3 separate regions of the Homo sapiens genome follow, and all the other regions are linked to region 2. The links are contacts of gene promoters, found by promoter capture Hi-C in human tissues and cell types (Jung and others, 2019). All regions are on one chromosome and are shown on one strand. The core of a region is centred on a gene start or on the middle of the fragment in contact, and the rest is flanking DNA. Distances in the headings are between cores, read along the strand shown. Region 1 has its middle 23 kb from the start of SYT17. Region 2 holds the start of TMC7 (transmembrane channel like 7). Region 3 overlaps SMG1 (SMG1 nonsense mediated mRNA decay associated PI3K related kinase).

Evidence for each region. Contacts are between HindIII fragments. The study calls those that stand out against the background at their distance.
Region 1: a fragment that was not itself captured here is called in contact with the fragment with the promoter of TMC7 in region 2 in 2 of the 25 tissues and cell types used here (neural progenitor cells and ovary).
Region 3: a contact is called between a fragment that was not itself captured here and the fragment with the promoter of TMC7 in region 2, in 1 of the 25 tissues and cell types used here (lymphoblastoid cells).

Annotation. Positions count from the first base shown.
Region 1 is chr16:19,143,926-19,146,773 of GRCh38, forward strand. No RefSeq gene overlaps it. Among named protein-coding and RNA genes, the nearest start is that of SYT17, 23 kb to the right of the region's middle. The HindIII fragment of the contact is 5,413 bases long and covers 1-2,848 here.
Region 2 is chr16:18,982,374-18,985,320 of GRCh38, forward strand. TMC7 (transmembrane channel like 7) reads left to right here and starts at 1,561. Exons shown (of 16, transcript NM_024847.4): 1 at 1,561-1,757. The coding sequence starts at 1,691. RefSeq lists a silencer at 1,472-1,531. The HindIII fragment of the contact is 36,131 bases long and covers 1-2,947 here.
Region 3 is chr16:18,832,706-18,835,815 of GRCh38, forward strand. SMG1 (SMG1 nonsense mediated mRNA decay associated PI3K related kinase) reads right to left here. Exons shown (of 63, transcript NM_015092.5): 49 at 2,187-2,459; 50 at 1,499-1,733; 51 at 235-461. Among named protein-coding and RNA genes, the nearest start is that of ARL6IP1, 33 kb to the left of the region's middle. The HindIII fragment of the contact is 5,083 bases long and covers 1-3,110 here.

The DNA.
Region 1 (2,848 bases), core at 58-2,557, 160 kb after region 2:
TTTGTCACAGTATCTTATTCAGTCTCAAAAGGAACCTCTGAATTTTTCTAGAACAACCAGCTCACTTTGTGGATGAGGAAATGAAGGACCAGATAAACATGTTTAATTTTGCACGATTTAATATCTGGCTGAGTGGGTTGGGCACTGCACAACTCTAGAAGGTGCTATGAATACGGGCTGCTATATGAATGGCACCTCCTGGGATTGTACAACTTAATGGTCCTATATGCTTCCATTGTGAAGAAAGAATGTTCTCAAATTGCTATGATTAAAAAATGATTTTTTGTTGCTTTGAATGAAAAAATGTATACTAATTTCAAGTATCATTTGATTAGATGATTTCGAGAACATTAGCATAGCTTTGCAAAGTAAGATTCTCAAACTCGAAGAGTTCCATATTTTTTGTGCTCTTTCTGAAAGTCAATATTCCATTGTAGCTAAGAGCTCAGACTCTGGAATCAGGCAGAAATGTGATTTGACCATTAATTAGCTGTGACCTTGGGCAAATCACTTTAGCTCTCTAATATCAGGCTCTTTCTTTATAATATGAACATAATATTATCTTATCACTGGGTTGGAAAATGTGACCTACAAGTGACCCATTCCCCCTACTTTTTTGTCTACTCTGAATTTGTTCCAATTAGGAGTGGGCTTGCTCTAGACTATGGATGATGGTTGGTCGATAAGCCAATCAATTGCTCAATTCCATTCCCTGCTTTCCCAGACTCCTTTGCACCTAGGGATGGTCCTGTGATCCTGTTTCGGCCAGTGGGAGTGTTGCTGTCATTTCCAGGAGATTCCATTACACTTAAGCTTGTTTCATTCTTTTACAGAGTTGTGTAGGTCCTGAAGGCTGAATACAATAGGGAAGAGCTACCAACTGGGTCCAATTGAGTCCAATCTGCCAAGCTCTGAATCAGAAATCAGAAACCCAGGTTCTCCCTCTACCTGTGCCAATGGTCCTGTTGTGTGACCCTGGGCTAGCCTCTTTCCCACTGGGATCTCAGTTTTCTCATCTGTAAAGTGTAGGAGTTCGATGGTGCCTGAGAGGTTATTTCTTTATTCATTTATTTAGGCAGAGAGGACTCTTCAGATTGCCTAGCTGGCCACTCTCTGCCTGTTATCTTTTTAGCTTCTCTGCAAGGAGAAGGTGCTAATTGGCTCCATCAGAGTCCTAGACACTCCTTGGGCCATGCATCCCTAGTGTCACTGTGTGGCAAAGGCTGCAGCTCTGCTCTTCTTCCCCTGTTACAGGCTGGGCAGTGCTCTGATCTAACGGCCTGCCTGAGCTCTTGCACATTGCCTTACATGTGAGCCATTGGGTTGGGTTGTGTATTAAGTTTGGTAAGACTCCAAGATTTATATTCATTAATTGGGAGGTGGAGTGGGACTAGAAAAAGGGTTTTAGATTACAGCCTAAACCAAGGGCTCTAATCTAACTCTTTTTTTTTTTTTTTTAAGAGATAGGGTCTCGCTTTGTCGCCCAGGCTGGAATGCAGTGGTGTGAGCCTAGCTCATTGCAGCCTCGAACTCCTGAGCTCAAGTGATATTCTAACTTTTTAAAGGAAGCTCTACATTGGTGACTATTAGGTCCAGATTCAACTATTAATAAAAAGGTGTTTTGATTCCAATGTAGCTGCTGCTTCTTGCATATAGCTCCCTAAGGAACTTTGGGAGTGGGGTGGAGTGAACAGGAGGGTGTTAGGAGATGGACAACAAGATTCAGGAATTGCTGGATCCCTGGTCTCAATGACATCAAAAAGATGAGCAAAATCACAACCCAAGCTAATCCCTACTTAACTTTAAACAAATATTTCTGAAACACCCAATTTCTGGCACGTCACAGCCAGCTCTGATGTTCTAAGATACAAAATTCTACTACCTTGGTTGGGACCAACATTGAACTCCAAATTCCCATCCTCCTGGTGATTTGTGGTTTCCTTTCCTGAGACCTGAATACCAGTGGTGGCTCCATGGGGACGGCACTGGGAGGTTTAACATTCCCCATCCCCCAATTTCTATCAGTCTGCCAATGTTTAATATAGACACCTGGCATTTTCTTATTCTGATGGTGTAGTAAAGGTCCTCACTTTCAAGTCTTCCTCCCTACTAGAGTCTCAACTCTAAGCCCCTTCTTGGGTCTCCTCCTCAGAGCTACCCTTCCTGAGTAGCCCCCAAAGATTTATACTTTCTAAAACAGCAGAATGGGTTCTATTCAGACAATACTTTGGTGAAAAGTAAACATCAGACTGGCACAGCTGAATCCTGGCCCTGGCTTCTAACAGCTTTGGGGGGTTAGCTCTACAAAGGCTACAGTTTATCTAAGGCACTAGGAACCCCAGGGCATTGTCAGGCCTTGCACTTTTAAAGTGGAACAGACTATTGTTGAAGACACAGGCAGGTGTTTTTAAATTGGTTGTGCACAATGTACTCTTTTTCTTTTTCCCAGGCGGGATTTAAAGAAAAAGAGAATGGCCGGGCACGGTGGCTCATGCCTATAACCCCAGCACTTTGGGAGGCTGAGGCAGGCGGATCACCTGAGGTCAGGAGTTTGAGACCAGCCTGGCCAACAGGGTAAAACCGTGTCTCTATCAAAAATACAAAAATGAGCCGGGCGTGGTAGCGTGTGCCTCTAATCCCAGCTACCTGGGAGACTGAGGCAGGAGAATCGCTGGAACCTGGGAGGCGGAGGCTGCAGTGAGCCGAGATTGCACCACTGCACTCCAGCCTGGATGACAGAGCGAGACTCCGTCTCAAAAAAATAAAATAAAATAAAATAAAATAAAAATAAAGAGAAAAGGAAGTGGGCTAGTTTACAGAAACCCCAGTGGGTGAATGGGTGGGACAA
Region 2 (2,947 bases), core at 311-2,810:
TGGCTTAATGTTGATGTTAACTTATTTACTTATTTACTTTTTTTTTTTGAGATGGAGTCTTACTCTGTTGCCCAGGCTGGAGTGCAGTAGTGCAATCTCGACTCACTGCAACCTCCGCCTCCTGGGTTCAAGAGATTCTCCTGCCTCAGCCTCCCTAGTAGCTGGGATTACAGGCGCCCGCCACCATGCCCAGCTAATTTTTTTGTATTTTTGGTAGAGACAGGGTTTCGCCATGTTGGCCAGGCTGGTCTCGAACTCCTGACCTCAAGTGATCCACCTGCCTCGGCCTCCCAAAGTGCTGGGATTACAGGTGTGAGCCACTGATCCCGGATGATGTTAACTTTGATCATCTGTCTGAGACAGTGTTTGTCAGGTATTATCTAATATAAAACCCACCCTCACCCTCTTCCACCACCACTTCCATACTGCACTCTTTTGGAAGGATGTCGCTATGGGCAACTCACACTTAAGGAGTAGGGAGCTAAGCTCCCCATCCTTAAAGTATCTACGTAAATGATTTCAAAATCTGCACAGGAGATTTCTCTCCATTTTCCCCATTTATTTATATTTAGCAATTACTTTTCTTTTTCTTTTTTTTTCTGAGATGGAGTCTCCTTCTGTCGCCCAGGCTGGAGTGCAGTGGCGTGATCTCGGCTCACTGCAACCTCTGCCTCCTGGGTTCCAGCGATTCTCCTGCCTCAGCCTCCCTGGTAGCTGGGACTACAGGCATGCACTACCATGCCAGGCTAATTTTGTATTTTTAGTAGAGACAGGGTTTCACCGTGTTGGCCAGGATAGTCTCGAACTCCTGACCTCAGGTGATCCTCCCGCCTCGGCCTCTCAAAGTGGTGAGATTACAGGTGTGAGCCACTGCGCCTGGCAATTTTATGTTTTTAACCTGCACACGAACAGAGGTAGAGATGAAACGAGGATATAGTGCAAAACGTAAAAGACAAACACTGCACGTGGTTTTCTCTTCACTCGGCCCTCTAGCTCCCCACCCAGAGCTACCACAGGTAGCCAGTTTTTTGCACCCTCTAGGGAGATAGCTTAGGCATTTACAAGCATGTACAAATATATTTTTTGGTTTCCTTTTTGTTCCCAAATGGTAACTTACTAGATGCACTGATTTGGAGTCTTGGGGTTTTTTGCGTGTGGACTTTTTATTTTTTAATTTTAAAGATGGGGGTCTCACTGTGTTGGCCAGGTTGGTCTCAAACTTGTGAGTTCGTGCGGTCCTCCAGCCTCGGACTCCCAAAATGCGAGGATTACAGACGTGAGCCACCACTCCCAACCAGTTATTTTTGTTATTTATTTCTTTATTAGATCAGGTTTGATTTTAGATGCAGGGGGTCCATGTGCATGTTTGTTACATGGGTGTACCGGGTCCTGGTGGAGACTGGGCTCCCAGTGCGCCCAATCTATTGTTATTTTTTAAGCTCAGTGAGACATCAGGGAGGTCGCTGCTTGTCGCCACCGCTGGATGGAGCCTTGCCGGATCTCCCGGGCTCTGCAGCCCCTCTGCGGTCCCTGATGCTCGGCTCCTCGCGGGGGCGCCCCACTCCGGCTTCTGTGATGTCAGCGCCGGAACCTGGAATCCCGGCTCCGCGAGGGAAGGCCGGGGAGGCGGCGGCGGCGGCGGCGGCTGGAGAGGGTCCTCGGCAGCCTCTGAGGAGCGCGGGGCGCGGCCATGAGCGAGTCCAGCGGCAGTGCGCTCCAGCCCGGCAGGCCCAGCCGGCAGCCGGCGGTCCATCCAGGTAGGGCGGCAGGGAGCGCGCGCGGGGACGGTGCCCCTGGGGTCCGAGGGCGCACGGAGGGAGCCGGGTGCTGGAGGCTCGGCCTGGCCGCTGTTCCCTCCCACCCCCGACGCCGGGTGCTCCCGGCTCTGGGGAACAGCAGGTGGGAAGGAGATCTTCCTTATTCCTGCTCCCTCCACAAACGCGTCCTCATCCAATCCAGTGGAACCCAGCCGGGCCAAAAGGACACGAGAACTGCAGTCTGGACCGTGGTGGGTTTGTCTTCCAGCTGTTGACCGAGACAGTCTTTCAATAGCCTCATCTGCTGTTAAATGAAAGGATTTGAGCACCCCCTCCACGCCTAACATTCTGGTATGAGGTGCCTGCCTCCCGGACATTTCAGCCTTCACATACAGTTAGACCAACTTGAAACCGAATTCTGCCTTGTCTGTTTATTGCTGTGGGACCTTTGGTAAGTGGCTTGCCTTCTCTGAGCCTCAGATCCTTCAGCAGTAAAATGGGAATAGAATGGGGCGGGGATTAGCTGAGAATCGTGTGATGTGTCTAGCACAGTGCCTGGCATTGTGGCTAGACAGTCACAATAAATGGTAGCCAGCCAAGTATTATAATCTTTTGTATCGGGTAGAATTACAGTAAAGTATACAGCTCCATGAATTTCTACAGAAATATGTACAACGGCTGCCCAGTCAGGATAAAAAAGTTGCCAGCACTCAGGCAGGGTTCCTTGTAGCATTTGGAGCTTACGAATCTTGTCCTGAACAAAACACAAGACCCTGCTGTAAAGTTTTATCTGCAATGTTTTCTCTTTTTCAGTTTTAGAATAGAGATTTACTGAAACCAAGGATGTAGGGCCGGGCGTGGTGGCTCACGCCTGTAATCCCAGCACTTTGGGAGGCTGAGGCGGGTGGATCACGAGGTCAGGAGTTCAAGACCAGCCTGGCCAAGATGGTGAAACCCCATCTCTACTGAAGATACAAAAATTAGCCAGGAGTGGTGGTGGGTGCTTGTAATCCCAGCTACTTGGGAGGCTGAGGCAGAGAATAGCTTGAACCCGGGAGGCGGAGGTTGCAGTGAGCCGAGATTGCGCCACTGCACTCCAGCCTGGGCGACAGACCAAGACTGTTTCAAAAAAAAAAAAAGAAACCAAGGATATAGAATAAAACATGAGTGTAGATTTGGTCATTGAGGCC
Region 3 (3,110 bases), core at 384-2,883, 150 kb before region 2:
AAGGAAGGATGAAGCATGCACAATACCTGCCTGCACTTTTTTTTTAAGCAACTTCTCGTGATGTATAATTATTTCAAAATAAAAAAGTTTTAAAAAGATACGTGTATGAGCATTTATAAGTAATTATACCTGCTCTAAAAACTAAAAGTAAACTTACGTTAAAGAGCTCAGAATCCCTTTCTCTGGCTGTCCCATCTCTTTTACAAGGAAACGGCACAGCCAGCATTCACTTGCCTGGCAACATCGATGTAATGAGCATGTGTTTCTTCTTCCAGTCCCATAGCTGCGTTTCTTAAGTAGGCCTGAAGAGATTCCACTAGAGTCTGCAGGGGAACGCCATCGGTGGTCTGCTCAATAAGACCGTCCAGTTCATGCAGCATACTTTCTAACGTGTATTCCCCTTTCATTAAACATCGAAGTGCTTCTGGAAATATGATTTGCCGGAAATTCGAATTCAATTCCTATAAATATATGAGAAAAAAACTTTTAATGTTTTTTGAGTTTAGCTAAGTTACACATTTGGAGACTTAGAGCCATACATTAAGAGCAAACTTATGTAACTATGCCATCAACTCATTCATGTAAGTACATCTTTTGTTTACTTTTTATTTCTACTTTTAAATATTTTCTTTTCAAATTCTATTTCATAGTCATGTGAAATTTTTCAGGAACTATTTCAAATGACTTTAAAAAGTTGTCATATAATTAAACATTCCTAGGATGATGTACCTTAAGAACAAAAAGAACTGCCCTAAAGTATGTTATATAATGTTATTAATTTTTAGGAATCATATTTCTGTAGTGATATTAGCATTGTTATTCTCTTTTTGGTTTGGTTATAAGTGGCTTCTATTTCCCTTCAAAAAAAAAAAGTCTTATCAAGGTATAATTTGCATATAATAAACTGCATGTTTAAAATATATAATTTGTTATACTTTGGTACTTGCATACACTCATGAAACTGTCACCACAATCAAGAAAATCAGCATACCGACTACCCTACAAATTTCCTCCTGACTTCTTAATCTCTCTCACTCACACTTCTCCATACCACCTCCTCCATCTCCAAGTAAACACTGATCTGCTTTTTCTCATATTATACACTCTCCATTTATAGGGGTAGAAATGTCTAGCTTTCTTTACTCAGCATAATTATTGTAAGTCATACATGTGGCTGTATGTTATCAAGGTGTCGTTCACTTTTATTGCTAAGAAGTATTCCATTATGTGGATGTACCATATTTGTCCATTTGCTTGATGAACACTTGACTTGATTCCAGTTTTTGACTATTACAAATAAAGCTGCTATAAAAATTCAAAAAAACAAAGAGCAACTGTAACCAAGTTATAGCTATAAATCTCACAATTATCTTCCTTTTAAATGACTGGTTGAGCAACATTCAAATGGGGAAGTCAAATTGCTTTCCTGGGTTAAAGAGATGAGAAAGACAATATTCAGTATCTAAAACAAACTAATATTTAAAATAAAAGTGTTCACCTGAAGTGAGGTATACACTCCATTGGCTAAGTGAACTGTCTCAGACGCTTCCATGGGGTTCGGGATATCTAAGTCCTGTGGCACCAGGTGGCACTGCTTCAGTAACTGAACCAAGCAGGTGACGTTTCCGCTCATACTGCAGAGTTCCTCCAAGAACCAGGCTCCATCCCGAGAAGTCAGATCAACCAGCTGTTCTCCAGCACTTGACGCTGCACCTTCCATCATCAGGTTACGCCTACAAGAGATAAATATCTGTACAGTGAAACTTAAATGTATAAACAAAACAAGGTAACTGGCCGGGTCAAGGCCATGCCTGTAATTCCAGCATTTTGGGAGGCCGAGGCAGGTAGATGACTTCAGGCCAGGAGTTCGAGACCAGCCTGATCAATATGGCAAAACCCCATCTCTACCAAAAAATACAAAAATTAGCCAGGTGTGGTGGCACACACCTGTAGTCCCAGCTATTAAGGAGGCTGAGGTTGCTGTGAGCCGAGATCGTGCCACTGCACTCCAGCCTCAGTGTCAAGAGTGAGACCCTGTCTCAAAACACAACCAAGATAACTAAAATCTGAAAAGCAAGTAAGCAGCTGTAACACTTGGCAAGACTAAGGAAAGTAAAAGAACATTTTAGGTTTGGGATTAAAAATAAGACACAGGAAATGGTCCAATATGAAGTTGGCTAACTTACCTTGTAAGGGTACAAAGGGCAGAAATAATAACACTTGCTAGACTCAAAGATCCTTCTTCTCCATTCTCATGAAGGAAAACTTTAATGCAACGTTCAATTTCTTTCAACTGATCTTCACAAACTGGCACAGTGACAGCTTCCTGTTTCAAGCGTTCCACTTGTCTAATAAGTCTGCTGTTGATGTCTGCTGCGTATCGCTGCAGGGTCATTTCAGTGGCAGTGATGAACTGACACACTGTTGGGGGTGGCTGGGGAGCATATTGCATTTCATATCTATAAAAATAAGGAAGAGGTGCTTGTTTATAACACAACCACCCCCAACATACAAAAGAATATTGCATTTAATCCTCAAACAAAACTTGAAGAGTAGAAATCATTATTTACATTTTACAGATAAAAATGTCTCAAGAGCTTAAGCAATTTCCTAAAAGGACTTGTTGATGACTGTGACAGAATCAACATTTGAGGCCAGGCACCACGGCTCATACCTGTAATCCTAGCACTTTGGGAGGCCAAGGCAGGAGGATCGCTTGAGCTCAGGAGTTCGAGACCAGCCTGGGCAACACGGCGAAACTCCATCTCTACAAAAAAATATAAAAATTGTTCAGGCGTGGTGACACACGCCCGTGGTCCCAGCTACTTGGGAGGCTGAAGTGGGAGGATCACCTGAGCCCAGGGAGGTCAAGGCTGCAGAATACAACTTTGCTTCCACTCCCAATAAGAAATACAATTGGCCAGGCGCAGTGGCTCACGCCTGTAATCCCAGAAATTTGGGAGGCCCAGGCAGGCAGATCACGTGGTCAGGAGTTCAAGACCAGCCTGGCCAATATAGTGAAACCCCGTCTGTACTAAAAAGACAAAAATTAGCCGGGCTTGGTGGTGTTGTAGTCCCAGCTACTCTGGAGGCTGAGGCAGAGGAATTGC